2 separate regions of the Homo sapiens genome follow, and region 2 is linked to region 1. The links are contacts of gene promoters, found by promoter capture Hi-C in human tissues and cell types (Jung and others, 2019). All regions are on one chromosome and are shown on one strand. The core of a region is centred on a gene start or on the middle of the fragment in contact, and the rest is flanking DNA. Distances in the headings are between cores, read along the strand shown.

Region 1 (5,447 bases), core at 935-3,434:
TCCTGCCTCAGCATCCCGAGTAGCTGGGACTACAGGCGCCCACCACCACACCCAGCTAATTTTTGTATTTTTAGTAGAGACGGGGTTTCACCGTGTTAGCCAGGATGGTCTCAATCTCCTGACCTCGTGATCCACCCACCTTGGCCTCCCAAAGTGCTGGGATTACAGGCATGAGCCACCGCGCCTGGCCATAATTAGTATTTTATGCACCATTTTAATCTCAACTCTTTCTATCTTTGCTCTATATTCATTTTTTTTTTTTCTTTTTGAGACAGAGTCTCTCTCTGTCACCAGGCTGGAGTGCAGTGGTGCGATCTCCACTCACTGCAACTTCCGCCTCCCGGGTTCAAGAGATTCTCCTGCCTCAGCCTCCCGAGTAGCTGGGACTACAGGCGCCCGACACCACACCCAGCTAATTTTTTTGTATTTTTAGTAGAGACAGGGTTTCACCATGTTGGTCAGGGTGGTCTCCATCTCTTGACCTCATGATCTGCCTGCCTCGGCCTCCCAAAGTGCTGGGATTACAGACGTGAGCCACCACGCCCAGCCTCTTTTCTCTATATTCTAACCACAAAAATAAGATTTAGTTTTCCCATCCATTTTCAAATAAATCAAAGTGTCCTCCTGAAACTCAGGCAATAAAAATCTGATATTTCTTCGTTCTTGGTGGGCAAAGGACAAGTTTAACATTTTCCAGACTTCGAAGAGCCAGATATATTCAGTATTATTATTATTACTACTAATAACTCTTGAATGTTAACATATGAATTAAGTTATTTCACAGAATACTTAAGATAAAATCTCTTTGGAGAATTTCCGATAGAGATTAAACTTATTAATATTCACATGTTATTTATAATAATCTATTGTCATTTTAATTGCTTTATGAAAGTAGTCATTTGCATTACAAAGATATTTTGTAGTTAAATGAAAGATAAATGCATCTCAAACCATATATAGAGCGAAAAGTCTTTATCAAGCAACCTATTTAACAAAAAGAGTGAAACAAACACATTCCATCCCTCTATTTTATCATCTTGTTCAGATACTTGAAAATCTGTAAATGTCTTTAGAGAGAGTTGCTGTTTGATAGACTGCAATACATAGATATTACACACAAGCACACTAAAGATCAAGTCCTGCATTAATCAATGATTTTATAACAAACAATAAAAATTCCTCTGTGACCTCATACCAAAAAAAAAACCCAATCCCAAACCAATGAACCATATAAATCAACAAATAAATCTAAATGATATCCTGGAGCAAAAACAGGCATAAATGTTTCTTGGAGTTTTTTATAATGAAATTATACCCATATTACATGGTGAATGAGGTGGTCCCTTGACCTAAAAGTCCCAGCCATGTGAGCACAGGGGTCAGACAAAAAAGATCAAGAGAAACAATGTATTCAGTCAGGGGGATTTGGCAACATCCATTCTATCTATCTCAGTCATTCAGAAAATAATTACGGTATTTATCACTTTTAGCATGCTAGACGGGATGATTATTAAGAGAGAAAAACAGAAATTAGACAATGCAACATAATGTACGTGCTCAGAAAAGTATAAGCATTGTCCTCAGGGATCCGGAAAGCCTTCTTGAAGGTGAAGACACTCAAACTGAATCCTGAAGGAAAAGTGGGCACTACCTATGTGAAGGGAGCAGAAAAGATAGTGTGTGCGTAAGTCCCAAGTTAGAGCACACTACTGTGAGAAGCTTGAAGAGTGTCATGCCTCCCAACAATAAGAAGGAATTACAAGTGGTACAATAGCGATATAAATAAGGGCCAGATGAGGAATATTTTTGCATGATATGTTAAGGAGATGAGATTTTAGCTGAGGAAAAAGGGGACAATGATAGTAGGTGAAGAAAAAGTAGATGTGGTCATTATAGGGTGTTTGTTCCACACTGCTCTGCATCAACTTTAGCCCCTCCTTGGCGAACTCACTTTTTGGTTGGAATTTTCGGTACTTCTCTATCACTCTCATGTGTCCCTCTTCCTTCATCTGGCAAATCCTGGCTTTCAGTATCTCTCAATGGACAAGAGTTTCCTCCCATCTAGGAAACTAACCAGCCTCTGGAGGACTTCTCCTTTTAAGTAAACCTAAATAACTAATGGTGACACCACCTCCTCTTTTAAAAAACAATTTGACTCTATCTTGTTTATCTCATAATTCCTAGGCATCAATCATCCGACAAAAGCATTCACTTACAACATCATTGTGCTGTGTTTCTCTTGTCAAACGTCACCATTCATCTTAGCAGACTACAAAAAGACATGGGAAAGACCAAAAACACATCGCTGGATGCCGTGGTGACAGATTTCATTCTTCTGGGTTTGTCTCACCCCCCAAATCTAAGAAGCCTCCTCTTCCTGGTCTTCTTCATCATTTACATCCTCACTCAGCTGGGGAACCTGCTCATTCTGCTCACCATGTGGGCTGACCCGAAGCTCTGTGCTCGCCCCATGTACATTCTTCTGGGAGTGCTCTCATTCCTGGACATGTGGCTCTCCTCAGTCACCGTTCCTCTGCTTATTTTGGATTTTACTCCTTCCATCAAGGCTATCCCGTTTGGTGGCTGTGTGGCTCAACTGTATTTCTTTCACTTCCTGGGCAGCACCCAGTGCTTCCTCTACACCTTGATGGCCTATGACAGGTACCTGGCAATATGTCAGCCCCTGCGCTACCCAGTGCTCATGAATGGGAGGTTATGCACAGTCCTTGTGGCTGGAGCTTGGGTCGCCGGCTCCATGCATGGGTCTATCCAGGCCACCTTGACCTTCCGCCTGCCCTACTGTGGGCCCAATCAGGTGGATTACTTTATCTGTGACATCCCCGCAGTATTGAGACTGGCCTGTGCTGACACAACTGTCAATGAGCTTGTGACCTTTGTGGACGTCGGGGTAGTGGCCGCCAGTTGCTTCATGTTAATTCTGCTCTCGTATGCCAACATAGTAAATGCCATCCTGAAGATACGCACCACTGATGGGAGGCGCCGGGCCTTCTCCACCTGTGGCTCCCACCTAATCGTGGTCACAGTCTACTATGTCCCCTGTATTTTCATCTACCTTAGGGCTGGCTCCAAAGACCCCCTGGATGGGGCAGCGGCTGTGTTTTACACTGTTGTCACTCCATTACTGAACCCCCTCATCTATACACTGAGGAACCAGGAAGTGAAGTCTGCCCTGAAGAGGATAACAGCAGGTTGAAGGACTGAATGAAAATAAGTAACTACATCTGCATCATTATCACTGCCACTCTCTTCAGCTACTGCTGCATGTGACAAATGCCCAATAAACTGCTAAGGATTTAAAGTGAATTTATTTTCATTTTCTTTGGCAGAAAATTCTGAATTATTTCGACCCAAAATCTTTTCCCCTAATTAAACTGGTTCAGGTTGTTTTACATAATCTTTTAGAAATAAATGGATACATTATTTCTATCACCTCTATCTTGTGAGATGAGAAAATGCCTTACCAAAGGTTGAATAAGATGAGAATGTGTCAATGTCTTAGAAAGTATATCATGCCAGAAAATTTGAAAAGAGTAAAAAGGGGGCTCCATAACCCCTTGTTTCATTGTCTTTGCTCCTAATCCTAGACCCCTCTAAATTCCATTTCTTTGCTTGTGCATGGCATGAATATTTCCAAGCACTTGAACTTGAAAATTCTGGATTATTTGTGTTTTCTTCCTGTCCCTCGCCCTCGTGATGTGCTAACACATCAGATTCTGTCTCCTCAAAACTATGAAACCAGCTCAAACTGATTCAGTGTAGACTGTCTCTCTTAATTCTTGACTAGTTCTTCCTCATCTAGACCACAATCAAAATTACCCTCTGAAACACAGAATCTGTAGGACTCTTCGGCGAAGGTAGAATGAATAAGGCCAGGCTCCTTAATCTGGAATTCAAAATCCAATGCAATCTTGGCTTCACATACATGTTCTCTTAAGCCATTTCCTCTGCTTCCCTCTCCCACCCTCACTGATTTATTGCCGTTCCGTGAGCATGCTCTATACTTGCCTGTACTCTTTTGCTCAAGCTCTCTTCTCTGCCTGGAATATAAGTCCTCCCTCTCCATATTGACCAAGTGACAATTTATGCTTCCTTCAGATCCATATTAAATACTTCCTCATCTGTTTTTCCCAGGCAGGACTTAACTCCTCTTCCCTGGTATTGCCATGGCTTCTTTAGTATAGACCTTGCCCCAGTCTGTCACGTATTACAGTCAAGAATTTATCTCCTACCGGGCGCAGTGGCTCACGCCTGTAATCCCAGCACTTTGAGAGGCCGAGGTGGGCAGATCACGAAGTCAGGAGTTCAAGACCAGCCTGGCCAACATAGTGAAACCCCCATCTCTACTAAAAATATAAAAAGTTAGCCAGGCATAGTGGCATGCACCTGTAATCCCAACTACTTGGGAGGCTGAGGCAGGATAATTGCTTGAACCCAGGAGGTAGAGGTTGCAGTGAGCGGAGATTGCACCACTGCACTCCAGCCTAGGTGACAGTACCAGACTTCATCTAAAAAAAAAAAAAAAAAAAAGTCTAAAAAAAAAAGGAATTTATCTCTCTTTCCACTTCAAATGGATTGTGAGCCCTCAAAGGACATAAAGCATTCATTTGTGTTTGTCTGCCTCTATTGCCTAATAACTACGAGCAGACACAGAAATCAATATTTGCTGCTGAATTTTTTTTTTTTTTTTTTTTTTGAGATGGAGTGTCGCCCTGCCGCCCAGGCTGGAGTGCCGTGGCGCGATCTCGGCTCACTGCAAGCTCCGCCTCCCGGGTTCACGCCATTCTCCTGCCTCAGCCTCCCGAGTAGCTGGGACTACAGGCACCCGCCACCACGCCCGGCTAATTTTTTGTATTTTTAGTAGAGATGGGGTTTCACCGTTTTAGCCAGGATGGTCTCGATCTCCTGACCTCGTGATCCACCCGCCTCCATCTCCCAAAGTACTGGGATTACAGGCGTGAGCCACCGCGCCCGGCCATTTGTTGCTGAATTTAAACCGCACTGCAAAAGTCTCTTGAAATGTATCTTAAACTGAAGAAATTATTGTCAGTTCTGCCGATTACCTGTCCTGGTCTCACCTGAAAAAAGAAAAAAAAAAGAGAACATTTAAGGGAAACTGAAGACAGAAGATTCAACTACATGGCAACCTAAAAGCAAGCATGGACAGTTCCTTGGTGAATAACCAAAAACAAGGTAAATGTATTCTTTCATTCGCTGGCATATTTTTCACTTCTTTGGATGTGTGGTATCATGTTGGCCCATTTTAACAGTAAAATTTAAACAAATGCATGGAAAGATTCAAAATTCGTAAAGGTAAAAATATATTAATGTGGATATAAGAATCACACTGTGCTATACAGAAACACCATAATATCAGGAAGGATATTATATGTTATGCATACATATAATACATGTTACACATAGTATGA
Region 2 (5,568 bases), core at 2,787-5,286, 45 kb before region 1:
AATCAGCATGGTTTTGAAAAAACAAAAATGGCACTTACCAAAACTTGAGACCCAGCATAGCAGAAAAACCCTGCACTGCTTAACAGGACTGCAGTAATATAAAGGTAATGTGCAAAAAAAAAAAAAAAACAGTGGAGGTCATAAGGGATTCTGCTTGCAAAATGCTAGCCAGAGTACATAATGAAGAGTGTGTGCAGGGTCTGAAAAGGATAAAAGTTAGACTACAGAAAGTACCAAGCTTTATGGACATAAGAGTCCATAAGGGTGATCTGAAGGTTCAAAGATGTTGTGAACACTGGAATAAACAGGCATACATAGCTTGAGGGAATTAACCTGATTGGTCTCTTTTGAAAGCAGGTGGGTAGGTGATGAGATCTAATTGTAGCTTCCTCTTAAGGTCTGGTTTCAGCAGTTTATTGTGAAAAACAGAATGATGGTCCCACCAGGGGCATGCAAGCTCTGTTGATTTCTTACCTTCTTCTGTGGGGGATGGAAGGGCTCAGACGGAAGGTCACAACACATTTAATTCATATTGCGTTTACAGATATCACCCCAAAGTTTTTTTCAAGGGGTTTCCTTCAACTCCTAAAATAAATGTCATCTTAATTCACTGTGTTATAAATTCCTCATAGGAAAGGATCATTACTCTTATGAGCCTTTTTATCTCATACTACAGTAAGTATGATATTGTACACATCCTAGGTTATTGGCTGCTGATTGATTACTTTTAGTAGTGAGTCAGTGACCTTTCAGCAGTGAAGACCATATCACTGATCTTTTGGAATGGAAAGAGTAGAATGGGAAGAAGGAAAATGTCAGTTAATAATTAAAAAACTGCTCTCTCTCCTACACCAATGAAAAATTTCTATATGATTTAACAAGCAATTCTTTTAAGTGTGCATCTTCCATAGAAGGTGAGGTTAACCAATCATTCATATCTTGAAGCTATTTCTCCTTTATAATATGCAGCATCCAAGTGAAGTAATGGAGTAAACACTGGACTTGGCACCAGAAGACTGAGTTTAAGCCCTGGTTCGGGAGCTAACCTGGCATGTAAACTCTGTGAAAATCACTTAACACCAATCCAATTTTTCCATAGTGCTCCCTACCTCACAGGAGTGTTATAAAAAGCAAATAAAATAATGAGTGAGAAGGAGCTTTGTAAACTCTAAAGTGCTATGCAAGTGTAAACCACTGTTTTCATTTATTCTGTGGAATACATTTTGGAATAAGAGGGACATACTTTCAGGGAGGAAAAGCCTTAGTGGGACACCTCAGAGGCCATCTGTGTATAGTCAGAAAAAAGTCATGGGCCAAGGAGAAAGGCCACCAAGGGCTTGGGGGAAAGCAGGGAACTGTGATATAAGACAGTCAAAGATTAATTCTCAATCTTGCATTTTACTAAAAAAGTGGTGAGAGTAATTGCCTTACGATCAACTGAATATCATTTTCTGTATTGCCCTTGATATATCATGCCTATGATAAAGTACTTCTATTCCAAAAGTACAGAGGTGTTAAAAGAAAAATTTCAGCCAAAGGAGTTTAATTGAGAAATGAGTGATTCACAAATTGGGCAGCCCCCAGAATCACAGCAGATTCAGACAGACTCCAGTGCAGCCTTGTGGTGGAAGAAGATTTATAGATGAAAAAAAAAAAGAAAATGAAGTACATAAGTCAGGAGTGAGGTATAGAAACAGTTAGATTGGTTACAGGTTGGCATTTGCCTTATTTGAACAGAGTTTGAACACTTTGCAGTCTTTGAGTGGTTGAAGTATGGCCACTGGGATTGGCCAAGACTCAGCTATTGTTACAGGCACATACTCCTAAGCAAGGTTTTCAATTAAGCTAGGTTACAGTTCATCCACAAAACTCAAATATAGAAGTATGTAGTCTTTCTCAGGCTATATTTAGCTTGCTTTAACAATTCCCCACTTTTGGTCATTTTCTCAATTTTGAGAGATTGACCAAAACTTTAGTCATTAATGTCATGATCACCATCATAAATGTACTTATTTGGTCTTCAAACCCGCTGGGAAACAGTAGAAGAATGAGTTTTCCAAGGAGAGAATAAGGACTGAGTGGGTACCTCCCTATGCTGAAATATTCTGTTTTCAGGAGAAAAACAAAACCTGGTCTGTTCTAGAATTTATGTGTTTCCTTAAAGTCTTAGTTTCATTACGTCAAATTTAGCATAAGCAACTCCGTTTTGGTTTGGTTTGGTCTGTTGGGGTCTAGTGCATGATCTTAGTCCAATACAATGGCCTCCCATAATTTTGTTCTAAAAAATTCCCCCTTTTTGGCCAGGTTCTCACTTAGGTGAGAGCGTAACCAAACTTAAGGCCTTAGTGCCACTCTCAGTTACCATCATTTTGGGTTTCTGGTATCAGCATGTCCTTCATAGTTTACGGTGTCCTCATGGTCACATGTTTACTTCAGCTTTTGTCATTCCAGTTGAAGAGAGACCATTTGACATTCTAGAGATGGCTGCATGCAAACATTTAAAACCTTCAAGAGAATATAGTGCACCAGAGAGACTACTGTGGTAACTATTGGGAGGATAATACCAAGAGTTTGGAGTATGCTCCTTACCCAGGTTCCCCATAAACCAAACCACCTAAAATCAAATAGATCAAAGAATGAGCTAGATAAAGAGTCCACTTGCTTAACTAAGTGATCTTTTTGTTAATCCCCTACAACTGAATCTCTATAATACCCAATGTATTTCTTCCTAGGCCACAAGTGCTAGCACTGCACAGATTCTTCTCTGTTTAGCCAATTCTACTGTTTAGCATAACTGTCACAAGAGACTTTAAAGTCTGTTGTGTAAGCATAGTCTTTGCAGTAGAATCTGCTATAGTGCCTATCATGAGGGATACATTTCTAATCATTGCCTCTTTTACTTCAAACCACAGAAAAATGACCTAACAAATGATGCCTTTGGGAAGAGTGAAGACCTCCTAGCAACATTCTCTTTAGCCCACGATGTGGGTTAAGAGGAGTGAATCCATGTTCTGTTTCTGACTGATTACATGGCAATATTTCTACCTTTAAAGTTTCTCAACTACAATGGGCTTTCATTTTTTTATCTGTAAAGGTATAAGGTTATTCATGTGTAAGGCTGGCTGCAAAATCATTTATGAATAAAAGTATACCATATAAGTGCACACAACAGACCCCCTTTCCATTTCTATTGTTCACAGAGGCATAAACAAGGAAAAAGTATTCAAAGATAAGAGTCTCATAATAGTAGAAGTCTTGATCTGTGATCTTGGGAAAAGCTGTTTATATCAAGGATGGCATCTTCTTCTGGGGAGAAATTTCCCTGGTTAGCTTTACCTTAAGGGTTCCAATGGATGTACAGTTCCAAGAGTGTGGAGGGACCCTTCTCAGTTGTGAGATTACGAACCCAAAGTTCAAAGTTCCAAAGTTTTGCTATAGTGTGGATGTCAAGGACAGTCTTTCTCTGATGTTCTCAGAAGATCCAATCTTTGGGTTCTAGATTGTGTAGGGGCTGATTGTCCTCAGGGAATCATAAAAACCTTTCTTTACCAGGTGAAAATACACTGTAGCGTAATAATCTACTGTTATAACATCAGCCCTCTTGCATGGGAAAGCTTTTATACAAACAGAAAACATGCGTTGAAAATGGCAATTGAATGAAATCCCTTTATAAATGTTTAAATGGCCCATCGGGTAGCCAAGTGTACCTGAAGCTTTGGTTGTCTTCCCAAGAATATGGATTTAACAAACCAAATACTGGTTACAAACTAATTTAGCAATGTATAAGTCACCACACCAGTATGCATGTAATGTGGATAATTTTATCTTTTCCATGATGAGTCATGAAATGCAGAACCTTTAATAACAAAAGCTTTAAGGACTCAGGAAGGACAAGGCAGCCTTCCTGGTTCTCCATGAGTCCATGCTTAACACTAGACTTATGTCCTCTTGAATACCAGTTGTTTCTCTGACTTAGGTGCATAACACTGATAACTGACGGGTTGTCATAGGTAATTTCAGTTAGAGCATGGAGTTCATTCAAATTGTATGTCTCAACAATTTTAATATTGGCTGAGTTAGCATGAAAACCTGGCAAAGTATTTTCTCGGTATTTAATTAATTTTTGTTCTACTGGGGTAAGCAGTTTTATAAACCAATCAGTCTTTTTATTAAAGTTTCAGGAATTCTTACCCGGTCCAATTCTGGGGAAATTGGGGAATTTTACCCACGATGTGATTTTAAAGTTATTAGAAACCTATATTCAAGAGCACTTTTCAGGGTCCTTTCCATCCTTTCATGAATCTCCTAAAAGACATCATATTTTAGGATTTTATGTGCTTGTGAAATTTTTAGAAATTGCATCAGCATTATGCAATTACCTGTGGAAGTGACTTTAAATAGCTGTAAAGACAGAACAGACAAGGAAATGTGGTTATTTCTGTGATCTATAATAACAATAACCATAATTATGATTGATAGCATATACTCAGACATATCAGAATTTTAGAAATGCATAAAATTTTGGAATATATTATTATTATTCATGAAAATATAACCTGAAGAAGATTAAACATTGTTTTTATTTTGACGATCCCATGTAACTAAACATGTCAAATAATCCTGTTTATCTCTCTTTTAGATGCTTCAAGAGCCCTCTGTATCATCTCAAAATTAGAGGTCAGAAAAGACAATTTTGAAGCTGAAATTTGATTTTGAGAAGCCTATTAAATATGTTAAAGGTTTAAAACACTTAATATTATGAACTAGTATTCCAGATTACCATAAGTCATTCATTTAGCCAAAATGATGACTCGAAGTTTTCAAAAGACAAAAACCTTTACTCATTGATAAAGGACAGACTTAGCTTTCCAATTGGTCTGTTGTCTTTCCGTTTTTTCAGTAGTTTACTCAAAAGGCAAAGAAAAATCTTTCATTATCCTTTAATATTACATGAAAATCTTGTTCAAGAGAGAAAGCCAAATTTTACCCTTGCATTAGTATATTATTAATGTCAAACCCAATTCTTAATAAAACAAATTATATATAATTTGGATAGATTATAATCTATCTATTGTCTATTTGTCTATAGACAAATCTAACCAGTCTTCATCAGTTTGACCATAAGGTGAGATTCCGATAAACCTTTTATAACCCTTTACAAATTTTTGTTAAAGAGCAGATGAGTGCTTTAAGAAACCCCTGTTTGTGCTTTTATTTTGATGTTCAATTTACAGAAAAAACAAATAATCCCCTTTTAAATTTAGTCAATATGTTCACACACAGAATTTCTTTTACAAGATTAATTTTTACAACCCTTCTACACCTTGTTCAAGCTTTTAGCTTATTCTAACATAATTTAAAACAATCCTTTAACCCTCTAAACTAGGCAAAAATTTACATTCCCATGCCTTCTTATAATCTTTTGCCAAAAACACATTTTACTATCCTCACATACCCTGCACGTAAAACTATTTTTTTCAGTAATCTCAATCACATCTTATAATGGTAACTCAGCAACTTTTGCTTTTGGTGCACAGATTTCCTTTCACGAATCCTTTCATGACTTAC

What was found. Contacts are between HindIII fragments. The study calls those that stand out against the background at their distance.
Region 2: a fragment that was not itself captured here is called in contact with the fragment with the promoter of OR10G2 in region 1 in 3 of the 25 tissues and cell types used here (H1 embryonic stem cells, hippocampus and liver).

What each region holds. Positions count from the first base shown.
Region 1 is chr14:21,631,677-21,637,123 of GRCh38, reverse strand. OR10G2 (olfactory receptor family 10 subfamily G member 2) reads left to right here and starts at 2,184. Exons shown (of 1, transcript NM_001005466.2): 1 at 2,184-3,288. The coding sequence starts at 2,282. The coding sequence ends at 3,214. It also overlaps TRA. The HindIII fragment of the contact is 10,781 bases long and covers 1-5,447 here.
Region 2 is chr14:21,678,548-21,684,115 of GRCh38, reverse strand. It overlaps TRA. Among named protein-coding and RNA genes, the nearest start is that of OR4E1, 7.5 kb to the right of the region's middle. The HindIII fragment of the contact is 4,222 bases long and covers 1,926-5,568 here.